3 separate regions of the Homo sapiens genome follow, and all the other regions are linked to region 1. The links are contacts of gene promoters, found by promoter capture Hi-C in human tissues and cell types (Jung and others, 2019). All regions are on one chromosome and are shown on one strand. The core of a region is centred on a gene start or on the middle of the fragment in contact, and the rest is flanking DNA. Distances in the headings are between cores, read along the strand shown. Region 1 holds the start of PCOLCE (procollagen C-endopeptidase enhancer). Region 2 holds the start of EPHB4 (EPH receptor B4). Region 3 overlaps SLC12A9-AS1 (SLC12A9 antisense RNA 1).

Region 1 (4,160 bases), core at 306-2,805:
CCACACAACCCAGCCAGAGGGCAGCTCCCCTGCCCCAAGCGTTTCTTGCAGAAACGGACTGAATGGGAAGGGGCCTCCATGTGAGTGCAGAGCAGAGGGCCTGGTCTCTGCAGCTCTGCTGGTAGCCTGTGCAGGGGACAAGAGCTGAGGCTTTGGAAGAGGAGGGAGGGCCGGGGACTGGAGAATGAAGATTTGAGGGAAGGGTTAAGATGATGCGTGTTACGGTGGGAATGATGCCTTCAGTGACAGAGGGAAGACACTTGGAGCTGCCCCAGGTTGAGAAGGTGGTGCGGGGGGGACGGGGGGGGGGTCCCTTCGCAGTCAGGCCTTTTTGCCTCTGAGACTTTAACAAGGGGTAGTGCCCAGAGGGGTTTCTCACCGTTATGGTCCAGATGCACTCCTTATTAGGGGGGTAGAGGTTGGGGAACCCCTCACTTGCCACGTAACCTGATTCCCCCTTCACATCCCCTCCGCACAGGAACACGGGTCTGGAGAACAGAAAAGGGGTCAGGAAAGAGCAGGGACGGGTGGGACGGGGGAGCACTGGCAAGATGGGGATGAGGTGATGAGGATGAAACTCCAAGGAGGGAAGCTGGGGGATGAAATGGAAAGGCCTTGAGAGACCTGGGGCAGCTTCCACCAGCCAGGACAGGGCTGGGGTGTCCCAGACTCCCACAAAGATAAGGGAAAAGTGGGCCTGGCAACTCGACCATCCCTCCAACCCCAAGAGTCCCCACCCCCACCCCAACAGGAATTCCCGGAATCCTCCTCGGCCCCCCTTCCAGACTCCCGCCTCACTCTGCCTGGCAGTCCAGGGACAGGAGCCGCCTAACTACTTCCAGATGTGGACACAGCCACGAGGCGGTGGGGGGGAGGGGGTGGAGAGATGGAGGGAGCTGCAGTGGCGATGGCCCTCTGATTGAACCTGGAGGCCAGGCTCCGCGAGCTCCACACCTTAGCCCTGCCCCTGTTCCAAACTACTTCAGATTCTGACTCCCAAGTCTCCACTCACTGCCCCCTCCTCCCCCTACAATCCCTCTCGAATTCCTTCCTGGAATCCAGCTACCAGGCAAGTTCAGGAGCTTGGCTCTCTCTTGGGTTCTATGGGGGGTCAAGGATCTGGGTGGGTGGGGAGACTTAAGAGACCAGAGGACGAAGGTGGGGGAATGGGAGCAGTGGTGGCCTGCAGGAGACCAAGGTCTTGCAGCAGATGGGGAGGATTTGGGGGCCAGAGAAGGGTGAGGCGGTGGGGAATCTGGGGAGTGGTGTGTCAGCAAGGGAACCCAAAATATCTCCAGGCATAACCCCAAAGGAATCGGGGGTCTGAAGTTCACTGGAGCTGTCTGGAAGATGCCAAGAGACCTACCTGGTGTAGTTGGGGGTCTGGCCCTGGGCAAAAGGCAGCAGGGCGCAGGCAGTGAGGAGGGGCCCCAGGAGGGAGGCTGTGGCTGCAGGCAGCATGGCCCCGGGGGAAAGGCGCTGGGGTCCTCAAGACAGAGGCAGCAGCTGAATTTTGCAGAGCAGCAGCAGCGGTGGCGGCAGCAGCAGGATAATCAGCGCCAGATGGGGCAGCCTTGGGTGTGTGGGCGTGGGGACTGGCCAGTGGGGCGGGCAATGGGGAAGGCGGGACAGTGGCGTGTCCTGGGACCTCTCTAGGTCTAGGACACATAAATGTTGACCTTAGGAGGGGGAGGAGCAGTGAGGGGCAGAGGCCGTCTCCCAGGCCTCAAGTAACGTCATCGGGAACCCCACTCTGTCCAGTGAGGGAGTATCTCCGGGAACTTCTGAGGACTCCCTAGCCCCCATCCTCCCCCCGCCCCTGCTTCCTCAGCTCAGGAGCCCTCATTGCTCACCCCCTGCCTGACCACCCCTGCCAGCTCATTTTCCACTTCAATTTCTTTTTTTTTTTTTTTTTTTTTTTGAGACAGAGTCTCATTCTGTGACCCAGGCTGGAGTGCAGTGGCGCGATCTCTGCTCACTGCAACCTCCGCCTCCCGGGTTCAAGCAATTCTTGTGCCTTAGCCTCCCGAGTAGCTGGGACTGCAGGTGCATGCCTCCACACCTGGCTAATTTTTGTATTTTTAGTAGAGGCAGGGTTTCAGCATGCTGTCCAGGCTGGTCTCAAATTCCTAGCCTCAGGTGATCCGCCCACCTCGGACTCCCAAAGTGCTGGGATTATAGGCGTAGCCACCACACCTGGCCTCCACTTCACATCTCCATTGCCTTCTCTCCAGACCTGGGCCAGACTAGGCCAAGGAGAAGGAATTCTCACCCATGACCTCTTCCAACTACTTGAAGGTACAGGAAGCAAGGCAGGAGGCATGGGGTGTGGATGAAGGGAGTGTCCTTGTTACTCAGGAAGAGGTGGAAGGAGTAGAAAATAGAGCCCAAACCTGGGAGGTAAACAGAAGGGAGAGAGGAGGGGGGCTGGCTTCAGGCCGAAGGGAGATGGGTGGGAAGCTTTCGGGGGTCAGGAGGAACAGGCTGCCTCAGGATGGGGACAAGTCTAGTGGGCAGGGGATCCCAGTGGGGTAGCCAAGAGCATCTGTGCATAGAGTTGTTCCAGAAGGTAGGGCCAGAACTTCCCAGTCCAAACGACCAGGTGTGCTCTTGGGAGCAGGGAGTGGACAACAATGTGAAGGGTTCAGGCAGCATCAGCTCTGCTGCACCTGAGACCTGGAGCTGCTTGTGCTGCCTGCCCCTGCCTGGGCTCCTGCCCTCCTGCACCCACCAAGCCGGGCACCCACCCACCCCATCCCTGCCCCTGTCCCTCCCAGCCCCCAAGGCTTCCACACCAGGCCTCGCTGCAGCCTTTTATTCTATCCATCAAATCTCTTGTCCATGATAGTCAGGTTGGGGGCCCCTCCTGGGCAGCCCCCTGAACATTCTTACCCTGGTTAGCCGTCCCCACCCCCTAGCAACCCCTTCCCACACGCATGTGCACAATGGTCATTGCTCCTTAGTCCCTGGCCTGGGGCCGGACTCCCTCCTCCAGGGACTAGGCTAGCATGAGGGGGATTAGGTCTCAGGGGCTGGGGGCCCTACACCACCCCCGCCTCCTTCAGCCCTCTGCAGCATGTCCAGGGCCTCCCAGAAGAAGTCCTTCTGTGCGGCCATCAGGGGCATCCACCCTACGATCTCCTTCATCTTCTCCGTGCGGTCCTGCAACGTTTGGCAACTGTGGATCTGGCTGAGGTACTCCTCGCAGGCCTGGGCCATCCCCCCGGGGTCCTGGGGTGCTCTGGCCCCCAGGCTGGGCTCAGGAGTCCCCACCACCCTGCTGGCTGGCAGGTGGCGATAGGGGGCGTGCTGCTCAATGTCGTGGCTGGACAGGATGTATAGGCACTCCCTGGTGGCACAGAGGGCACAGGCACACAGAGGGACCTTGGAGGAGGAGAGAAAGGGGGCATGGCTGAGTGGTGCTTTCCTTGCAGGGTTTCCCAGGGTGCCCGGGCTAATCTGCCTATTGCATTCTTCCCTCTCACACCAGCCCTGAGCCGGCTAAGTCCCAGGGGTGTGTGAGGTTGGGCAAGGCCAGCACAGTCTGCTAAGGGAGAAAGCAGAGAGCGTGGTGTGCGGCAGAGGAGGGAGGTGGGGTGGTGCTAGGGAAATGGGACCCCCTGGGTCCCTGCAGGAGCCCCAGCTACAGCCTGTGGGCTTCCTGGTTCATGGCTCTCATCCTCCCTGGGTGCCCACTCTCCTGACCCCGCTCTGACCTTGACTTGGAGCTTGACGAAGGAGGCACTCCCCTTGGGCCAGCCTGGGAGGCGGCCCCCAGCCCCACAGCCGCAGCCCAGCAGCTCCTTGCTGAACTCTGAGCTCTGGCTCAGCACCAGGGAGTGGTTGAGGCCGCACCACAGGGTGATGGGCCGCTGCAGGTAACAAACCTGGGGACACACGGCCAGGGTCCCTGAGCAGGGAGCACCAAGGGACGGGGGGGCTGGGGTGGGAAAAGGTTGACTGGAAGGCTCGGGGCAGAATGAACTGGGGAGGAGGAAATGGGAGCCAGCACTGTCCCACGCCCCAGGTCTGCCCTGCTGACCCCTGCAGCCCCCATACTCTAACTGGTCACATAGGGTCTTGCACTTCTGTTGGTATCTCATCTATGCCCCCAGAAAATCAGCTCCTTGCCTGAGCCCAGGGCCTGCTGTGGTGTACCC
Region 2 (4,162 bases), core at 94-2,593, 230 kb before region 1:
AGTAGAAGGGGGTTGGTGGGAGGAGCACGGCTGTGCTGGACCCTCCCCGCTAACTGATGGGAGGGTGAGGGGAGTTGGCAGTGAGAGGAAGGGCCCCTCCCAGCCATCCCGAGGGCCCCCAGGAGCCAGACAGGAAACAGCTCAGGAAAGACAGCAGCCGCAGCCGCAGCCCCAGCCTCAGGGGTCATGGCTGCGGGCGGCGGGGAAGCCCCCCCAAAACACGAGAGTGAGAGTGAGAAGGGCGATTTGGAGATCTAGCCGGACCCCTCACCCTCTCGGACACACCCACCTTTTTTTTTTTTTTTTTTTTTTTTGAGATTTCGTCTCACTCTGTAGCCCAGGCTGGAGTGCAGTGGCGCGATCTCAGCTCCCAGCTCACTGCAACCTCCGCCTCCTAGGTCCCGGTTCAAGCAATTCTCCTGCCTCAGCCTCCCGAGTAGCTAGGATTACAGGCGCGCGCCACCATGCCCAGCTAATTTTTGTATTTTTAGTAGAGACGGGGTTTCATCATGTTGGCCAGGCTGGTCTTGAACTCCTGACCTCAAATGATCCGCCTGCCTCTGCCTCCCAAAATGCTGGGACTACAGGCGTGAGCCACCGCGCCCGCCACACCCACCTTTTCTTTACCGTTGTTTCCTCGATTTTTCTCTACTCCCTAGCGCAGCTTAGTGCGCGCCTCCTCTGGACATTTTTCAGGGCTTGGTTGCGCGCACAGTAGGTCCCCAACACTGAATGTTTATGGGGTGACTGTGTGAACGTTCGCTGCAAGGCTATCCAAACTGGGATTGCTCCTTGAGGCCCCCTGGGCGGCCGTCAATTCTCCAAAGCTTCTACTCCCTTTTCCTTCCTTTTCCCCCAAAACGCAGTCCCTGCGCCCACTAGAGGGTGGTGGGCGCATCCAAGAGCGGCATCTAGAGTCCGCAGCAAGGTCAGAGCGGGCTTTGTGTGCGCGGTGAACATTTACGTGCACGCCTGGGCGGCCCTCCGTGTTGCTGCTGGGTGTGTGTTTTCTCTGCTCCCTGGTGCCAGCCGGGTTCGGGCCTGTCCCGGGGGTCCCTGGGCCCCAGCCCCGACATGCTCGGTCCTGGACAGCGCGCACCGCCACGGCGCACATCTGGGCGGTCCCGGGGTTCCTCACCCGCCGCCCCTCCCCCTTCTCCAAACTTTCTCTCAACTTCCCGACCTGCTCCACTCGGTGCCCCTCTCCGCTTCCCTCATGAATTATTCAGTAGCGTGAGCTCCAATCAGCGCGCCCGGGGCTCACTCGCGGAGCCCCCGCGTTGGGAGAGCTGCCCCCGCCCCCCGCGCGCCCCTCCCTCCCGGGCCCGGCGCCGCCCGGCCCAGTTCCAGCGCAGCTCAGCCCCTGCCCGGCCCGGCCCGCCCGGCTCCGCGCCGCAGTCTCCCTCCCTCCCGCTCCGTCCCCGCTCGGGCTCCCACCATCCCCGCCCGCGAGGAGAGCACTCGGCCCGGCGGCGCGAGCAGAGCCACTCCAGGGAGGGGGGGAGACCGCGAGCGGCCGGCTCAGCCCCCGCCACCCGGGGCGGGACCCCGAGGCCCCGGAGGGACCCCAACTCCAGCCACGTCTTGCTGCGCGCCCGCCCGGCGCGGCCACTGCCAGCACGCTCCGGGCCCGCCGCCCGCGCGCGCGGCACAGACGCGGGGCCACACTTGGCGCCGCCGCCCGGTGCCCCGCACGCTCGCATGGGCCCGCGCTGAGGGCCCCGACGAGGAGTCCCGCGCGGAGTATCGGCGTCCACCCGCCCAGGGAGAGTCAGACCTGGGGGGGCGAGGGCCCCCCAAACTCAGTTCGGATCCTACCCGAGTGAGGCGGCGCCATGGAGCTCCGGGTGCTGCTCTGCTGGGCTTCGTTGGCCGCAGCTTTGGAAGGTGAGTTTCCTTGCGGGGGGGGGCGCACCCCGTCACTCCTGGGACCTCCCCCCCAACATCTGGGCCTCGGAGTGGAGGGGCCGGCCTCTGACTACCCCTACCCGGGCACTGCAGTCCCAAACACTTCGGACCGATAGTGCTGGAACGGGAGGGGGGCGGGGAAGAGGCGCCCGACGGGTAGTGGAGTTTTCTTTTGTTTGGGAAAGAGATGGAGTCTGGCTACGACCCGGGACATTCCCCTGCCCGGGCTCCCCGAACTCTCACTGCTGATTACATACGCCCCTGGCTGCCTTTCCTTTCCTCCCTACCCCACTATTCAAAACTATCTGCAAAGTTTCTGTCCCAGTCCCACCTCCCGCCGTACATGAGGGAAGGTTTCTGGAGAAGCAACAGCAGACAAGGCACAACTTTTCGTGCTAGGCCCTAAAACGACCCCCAGCGCCAATTCCTTAGCGATCACACCTTGATCCTCCAGTTCCACACTCCTGCAACAGGATGGCCTCCTTTGCATTCACACAGCAAACCCCCAAACCGCTCTCCCGCCCACTGCTCCTGCCCCTGGTATAGGGTGGCTCCTTGGTTTCTACAGGCTGCACCCCATCCCTTTAAATGCGGTCTAGACCCCGGCCCCAGGTGAGTCCCGGGCTTCCCTTGAGACCTAGGAGCGGGTAGAAACTGACCTACACAGCCCCCAGGTAGAAACTGACCTACACAGCCCCCACATCGCCCTAACTAACCCAGTCTATCTCCCACCTCCTGGTCTCTCCAAGCATTTCTTTGGCCATGGATCGCTGTCCCTCCTGGTCCCCTAAAGGGGGAGCCAAGAGCCCTAGAAACTCTCCTGTGTCCCTAATGTCCTTTCAGTGAGCTGCCAACACCCCCCTTTCTCTGTCTGGTATGAAAGTGGTTATGGGGCGGTAGGCTATGAGGGACTCCCAAAGGGAAGGATTCAGCGGCGTTAGAAAAACCCTCTCCCCCTGGCTGGGCAGGACTGCCCTGGGCTGGGGATCAAAGGCTAGGTGTGGGGTTGGGAGTGAGGGGAGGCTTGCCCAGCTCAGAGAACGGAGAAGGGGGAACAAAAACCATGAACGAGGGGAAGAGGAAGGCCAAAGGGGTGGAAAAACCACGAGGACGAGGTGTGGTGAGAAGGAAAGACGCAAAGAGGAAATGGTGATTGTGACACCTATTACCTGAGTGTTTCCAAGCACCAGGCCTGTGCTGAGCGCCTTACAAATATTAATTTCACCCATCCAGCAACGCTAAGGGTGGTGCTATTATTGCCCCCATTTTTCAGATGAGGAGGCTGGGGCTTAGTTAAGGTTAAGTAGTTTATCCAAGGCCCTGTGCCGCGAGGAACAGCGAGAAGTGGAGGCCGAAAGCGAAGGAGAGATAGTGACTGTCAGAAAGAGAAACGGAGGTGGACAGAGAGTGGAGGAGAGATAGGTGAGAGACATGCGAACTGACAGATCAAAGCGTGGCTGCAGCTGAGCTGGGACGCAGAAAGGGAGCCTGCGCTTGCTCTGGGCTGCGGACAGCCCGAGGCAGAGACAGTGTGTAAATTGGAGACAGGAAAACACTATCCCGGCTGGAACAATGGAGGGTGGAGACGGCAGCCTCTATCCACCCCCTTCCCAGAACCCGGGCATCCTGTCCCCAGTGAGCAGGGCTGTCTCTTGCCACCCATGGGGACCTTGCGCCTCTCACCTCAGGCTGGCTGGCTTCCCATCTGACCCCTAGCTGGAGGACATCATTTGGTCCCCAGGAAGAGGCTGCCTCACCCACCCTCTTTCTCTTCTCTCCTGCAGCTCCCATGGGGTGGGAGCCAGGTGTTCTGGCTCCCCTCTCCACCCTTCCCAGCGCCCAATGCCCCCCACATTGCCGGCCCCCGAGGGGATTCCTGTACCCTCCCTCCTCCACTCTCCACTGCCAGGGGCTGTGCAGTTTTTCCTAATCCCCCCCCTTCCTCCAGTGCCTGTCCCCTCCCCCGATGATCCGAGCCAAGCCAGGTGTGTTCACCCCTCCCATTCATACCGCCCCCCAGAATCTCCTCCCCTCTGCCTTCCCATAACCAAATCCAGATGTGAGGCCTCGGCGGGAGCCTGGGAACCCTAGCATCCCGACCTCCAGTGCTTCCTGATCAGGGCACTCGTGGGGAGGGAGGTACTGGGATGGGGGCCAGGGCTATGCCCCAGGCACGGAGCGCTCCCTTCAAGGAGGGAAGGACGGGGTGTTTGGTCTGAAAGCAGAGAGGGGTCTTGGACAGGGAATGAAATTG
Region 3 (4,123 bases), core at 1,591-4,090, 240 kb before region 1:
GATAGTGCCTCCAAGGGTGTACCTCTAGCCCAGACCTCTACTCTGAACTTCAGGCTGTATAGCCAACAATCTACTACCATCTTTTTCTATTTTTTTTTTTTTTTTTTTTTTTTTGAGATGGAGTCACTCTGTCGCCCAGGCTGCAGTGCAGTGGTGAGAGCTCTGCTCACTGCAACTTCCACCTCCCGGGTTCAAGCGATTCTCCTGCCTCCGCCTCTCAAGTAGCTGGGATTACAGGCACGTGCCACCATGCCTGGCTCATTTTTGTATTTTTAGTAGTGATGGGGTTTCGCCATGTTGGCCAGGCTGGTCTTGAACTCCTGACCTCACGTGATCCGCCCACCTTGGCCTCCCACAGTGTTAGGATTACAGGCGTGAGCCATGGCACCCGGCTCTACTACCATCTCTGCTTGGACATCAAATGGGCAACTCAAGCTTGGTATGTCCAAAACTAAATACTCAAACTCCCACCACCTGCTCCTCCTGTGGTCCTCTCAGGCCGGAAACCTGGGGTTACACCGGAATACTCTCACATCCAACATCCACACCATAGACAATTCCTTTGGCCTCCACTTTCAAGTTATAACCAGTCTGCAACCACATTTTACCACCCAAGTCCAAGCCACCATCACCTCTTCCGCTTTCACAATAGCCTCCTAACTGGTTTTCCCACTTCTGCACTTGTCCCAAAATCTATTCTCAGCTGAGCAGCTAGAGGGGTGCTGTTTAGGTAAACATCCATTCCCGATGGGTGCCACCTTTCATAATTCTCCAATGACATGCCTTTCTCCTCAAAGCAAAAGCCAAAGGCCACATCTGTAAATATGATGGCCTGACTCACCAACTACAGTCCTGCTGTATGCCTGATGCCTTGACTTCAATATTAACAGCATCTCCCGGCTGGGCGCGGTGGCTCACGCCTGTACTCCCACCATTTGGGGAGGCCAAGGCGGGTGGATCACTTGAGGTCAGGCGTTTAGGACCAGCCTGGCCAACATTGTATTTCCATTAATGTAGCAGGACGAGCCGCAGACAAAACTCCTCAGACACTGAGTTAAAGAAGGAAGGGGTTTATTCGGCCGGGGGCATCGGCAAGACTCTTGTCTCAAGAGCCAAGCTCCTCGAGTGAGCAATTCCTGTCTTTTTTAAGGGCTCACAACTCTCAGGGGGCGCGCAAGAGAGGGTCTTGATCGATTGAGCAAGCAGGGGGTACGTGACTGGGGGCTGCATGCACCGGTAATTAGATTGGAAGAAAACAGGACAGGGATTTTCACAGTGCTTTTCTATACAATGTCTATAATCTATAGATAACATAACCGATTAGGTCAGGGGTCGATCTTTAACTACTAGGCCTAGGGTGTGGCACCAGGCTGTCTGCTTGTGGATTTTATTTCTGCCTTTTAGTTTTTACTTTTTCTTTCTTTGGAGGCAGAAATTGGGCATAAGACAATATGAGGGGCGGTCTCTTCCTTTATTCCTCCCCTTTGAGACTCACTCAATAGTGGAAGTTCTCACTTTCATTCTCACTACCCATGTCTTCTTGCACGACAGATCGATAGTGATTCATATAGTACACTTGTGCTGAAGCATTTTGGTGAACTAAGGTAGCGATGAAGCTTTTTTTTTTTTTTGAGACGGAGTCTCACTTTGTCGCCCAGGCTAGAGTGCAGTGGCGCGATCTCGGCTCACTGCCAGCTCCGCCTCCTGGGTTCATGCCATTCTCCTGCCTCAGCCTCCCGAGTAACTGGGACTACAGGCGCCCGCCACCACGCCCGGCTCATTTTTTTGTATTTTTAGTAGAGACAGGGTTTCACCGTGTTAGCCAGGATGGTCTCCATCTCCTGACCTCGTGATCCACCCGCCTCGGCCTCCCAAAGTGCTGGGATTACAGGCGTGAGCCACCGCGCCCGGCCTGCAATGAAGCTTTTTATCATTTGAAGAAGTACAGGTAGCAAACAAAGGAGCAGTAAGCAGGTTCCTATTACTATTATAACTCTTATTATAAGACTTTTAAATTCTCTTAGCACTGGGAACCATTTTCTAAACATGGCCTCAGGATCAAATCCATGCCACACTTGCCTAGGCACATGTGCCAGTTTTGTCATATCTCTATGTCTTCAACTACTTGCCTTTGATTATCTATGTGTAGGCAGCAATTAGTAAGGTTAAATTTCTTACAGACCTCTCCTTCAGCTGCTAGCAAGTAGTCGAGAGCTAATCTATTTTGATAGAGAGCATTTCTCATCTGAGTTTCTTGCCGGCCTAGAATAGTCAAGGCTCTGCTGGTTTTATTAGTGATTATTTTTAAGACAGCTTGTAACCATATGATTCAGTTGATTATATAAATGGGGGTCCAGTATCTTCACGAGCCGTCTTGTGTCTAAGTAGCAGGCCTATAATATTGTATGATTCTCTCAGAGGGCCATTTATCATTTTTTGAATTTCCTATGGCTATGCTTCTCTTTTCACGGGAAGCATAGACAGGGAAGCCTAGGAGTTGGCCTGTTTTTATGGGCAGTAGGAAGAAAGATGGTTTAATAGTGCCAATAGGCCGGGCGTGGTGGCCCACGCCTATAATCCCAGCACTTTGGGAGGCCGAGGCGGGTGGATCACAAGGGCAGGAGATCGAGACCATCCTGGCTTACATGGTGAAACCCCGTCTCTACTAAAAATACAAAAAATTAGCCGGGCATGGTGGCGGGCTCCTGTAGTCCCAGCTACTCGGGAGGCTGAGGCAGGAGAATGGCGTGAACCCGGGAGGTAGAGTTTGCAGTGAGCCGAGATTGCTCCACTGCACTCCAGCCTGGGCGACAGAGCAAGACTCCGTCTCAAAAAAATAAATAAATAAATAAAATAAAATAGCGCCAATAACACAACTACTTGTCTGCTGGTCAGGCAGCCTAGCGTAGGCTCTATGTCCACATATCTAGTATAGCCTAGTGGGGGCCGTCCAGTCCTGGTGGGATTCTGGGTGGGCCTAAACGGTCCGCAACTTTGGAAATTTAGTGAATGGATTTTTCTCTGTGTGGTTTGAAGTCCACCATGCAGTCTTCCTACAGGAAGGATGAAGTCCTTCTCCACTTTTGCTATACAGTATTGTCCAATGATTGAGGCTTTTAGGACCTAGAAGTGATCAGGGTGATTTTTTTGTGCCAGGAATTCATCAGGAACTGGGTATGTAGGTACCAATTCTCGGGCTTCCCATGGCCATTGATCTCCTATTACAGCTCCTCCACATATATAACAGGAAGTGACATTGAGAGACTGGGCTGCACGCTCGGCTAATTGCAAAAACAAATTTCTTGTTTTTCCTGGAATTTCTGGTACTGGCACTTTTAGTTTATCATAGAAGTTTTGAAATACTGGCTCAGGAGAGCGTTTATAAACTTCTCCTCGAACTAAGATATTTACTCGAGGATCCAGTCCAGCCCCGTTGATTCCTAAGGTCACACGCTCCTCTTTTTTCTAGCGAGGATCAAGGGGATTGGTTATTACTAGCTCTAAAGGGTTACATTGTCCTTTAGTACAGGAAGGGCCATTTTTTCCTTTCTGAAGGTGGACTGGGTCCTTTTTATTTTTTTTTAATTTAAGTGGCTTAAATGACACAAGACCAGTATTTACATTTATTTCCACACAGTCCTAATTTATGACAGATGTACTTATTTTCTGCCATATAGCCTCTTTTCTAATTAAGAGAACTACACCTTATTCCCAACTTATTACTATTAATGATAGCACAGGCATCAAATTTTAACGTGACTTGTTTGGGCACCTCTTTTTCTTCTGTTTTGGTTAACACTTTACTCATATCGTTTGTGAGCCCCCACCAGTCTTCATTCTTAATCTTATTTTAAAAACTGTGGTCATGGGAGGCTCAGGTGGGTCATAACGCACATCAGGTTGGTCATTTCCTGGGCTACATACCTTGTACAGAATAACATTATACAAACAAGGCTTTTTTAGAGTTCTAGTACACTTATAATAACTGTAAAATAATAGGACCATAGCAACCTTTTGTCCTACCTCAGTGACTTGATGTATATACTGGGAACAGTCCTCAGTCTGAGGAAGGTCAGTTGAAGTCCTTACTGTAAAATTCCAAATTTTAAGGCAAATGAGTCCT

Evidence for each region. Contacts are between HindIII fragments. The study calls those that stand out against the background at their distance.
Region 2: the fragment with the promoter of EPHB4 here is called in contact with the fragment with the promoter of PCOLCE in region 1 in 1 of the 25 tissues and cell types used here (IMR-90 fibroblasts).
Region 3: a fragment that was not itself captured here is called in contact with the fragment with the promoter of PCOLCE in region 1 in 1 of the 25 tissues and cell types used here (dorsolateral prefrontal cortex).

What each region holds. Positions count from the first base shown.
Region 1 is chr7:100,599,758-100,603,917 of GRCh38, reverse strand. PCOLCE (procollagen C-endopeptidase enhancer) reads right to left here and starts at 1,555. Exons shown (of 9, transcript NM_002593.4): 1 at 1,367-1,555; 2 at 380-488. The coding sequence starts at 1,461. It overlaps FBXO24 (F-box protein 24), which reads right to left. Exons shown (of 10, transcript NM_033506.3): 9 at 3,717-3,887; 10 at 2,801-3,384. The coding sequence ends at 3,019. It overlaps PCOLCE-AS1 (PCOLCE antisense RNA 1), which reads left to right. Exons shown (of 9, transcript NR_038910.1): 1 at 1-80; 2 at 752-1,578; 3 at 2,235-2,298; 4 at 3,066-3,195; 5 at 3,729-3,878; 6 at 4,116-4,160. RefSeq lists an enhancer at 1-446. The HindIII fragment of the contact is 8,861 bases long and covers 1-3,875 here.
Region 2 is chr7:100,824,704-100,828,865 of GRCh38, reverse strand. EPHB4 (EPH receptor B4) reads left to right here and starts at 1,343. Exons shown (of 17, transcript NM_004444.5): 1 at 1,343-1,887. The coding sequence starts at 1,836. It also overlaps a transcript of SLC12A9 not described here. RefSeq lists an enhancer at 544-1,339. The HindIII fragment of the contact is 16,187 bases long and covers 1-4,162 here.
Region 3 is chr7:100,844,075-100,848,197 of GRCh38, reverse strand. All of the region lies in intron 1 of SLC12A9-AS1 (SLC12A9 antisense RNA 1), which reads left to right. It also overlaps a transcript of SLC12A9 not described here. Among named protein-coding and RNA genes, the nearest start is that of SLC12A9-AS1, 6.5 kb to the left of the region's middle. The HindIII fragment of the contact is 3,628 bases long and covers 1,027-4,123 here.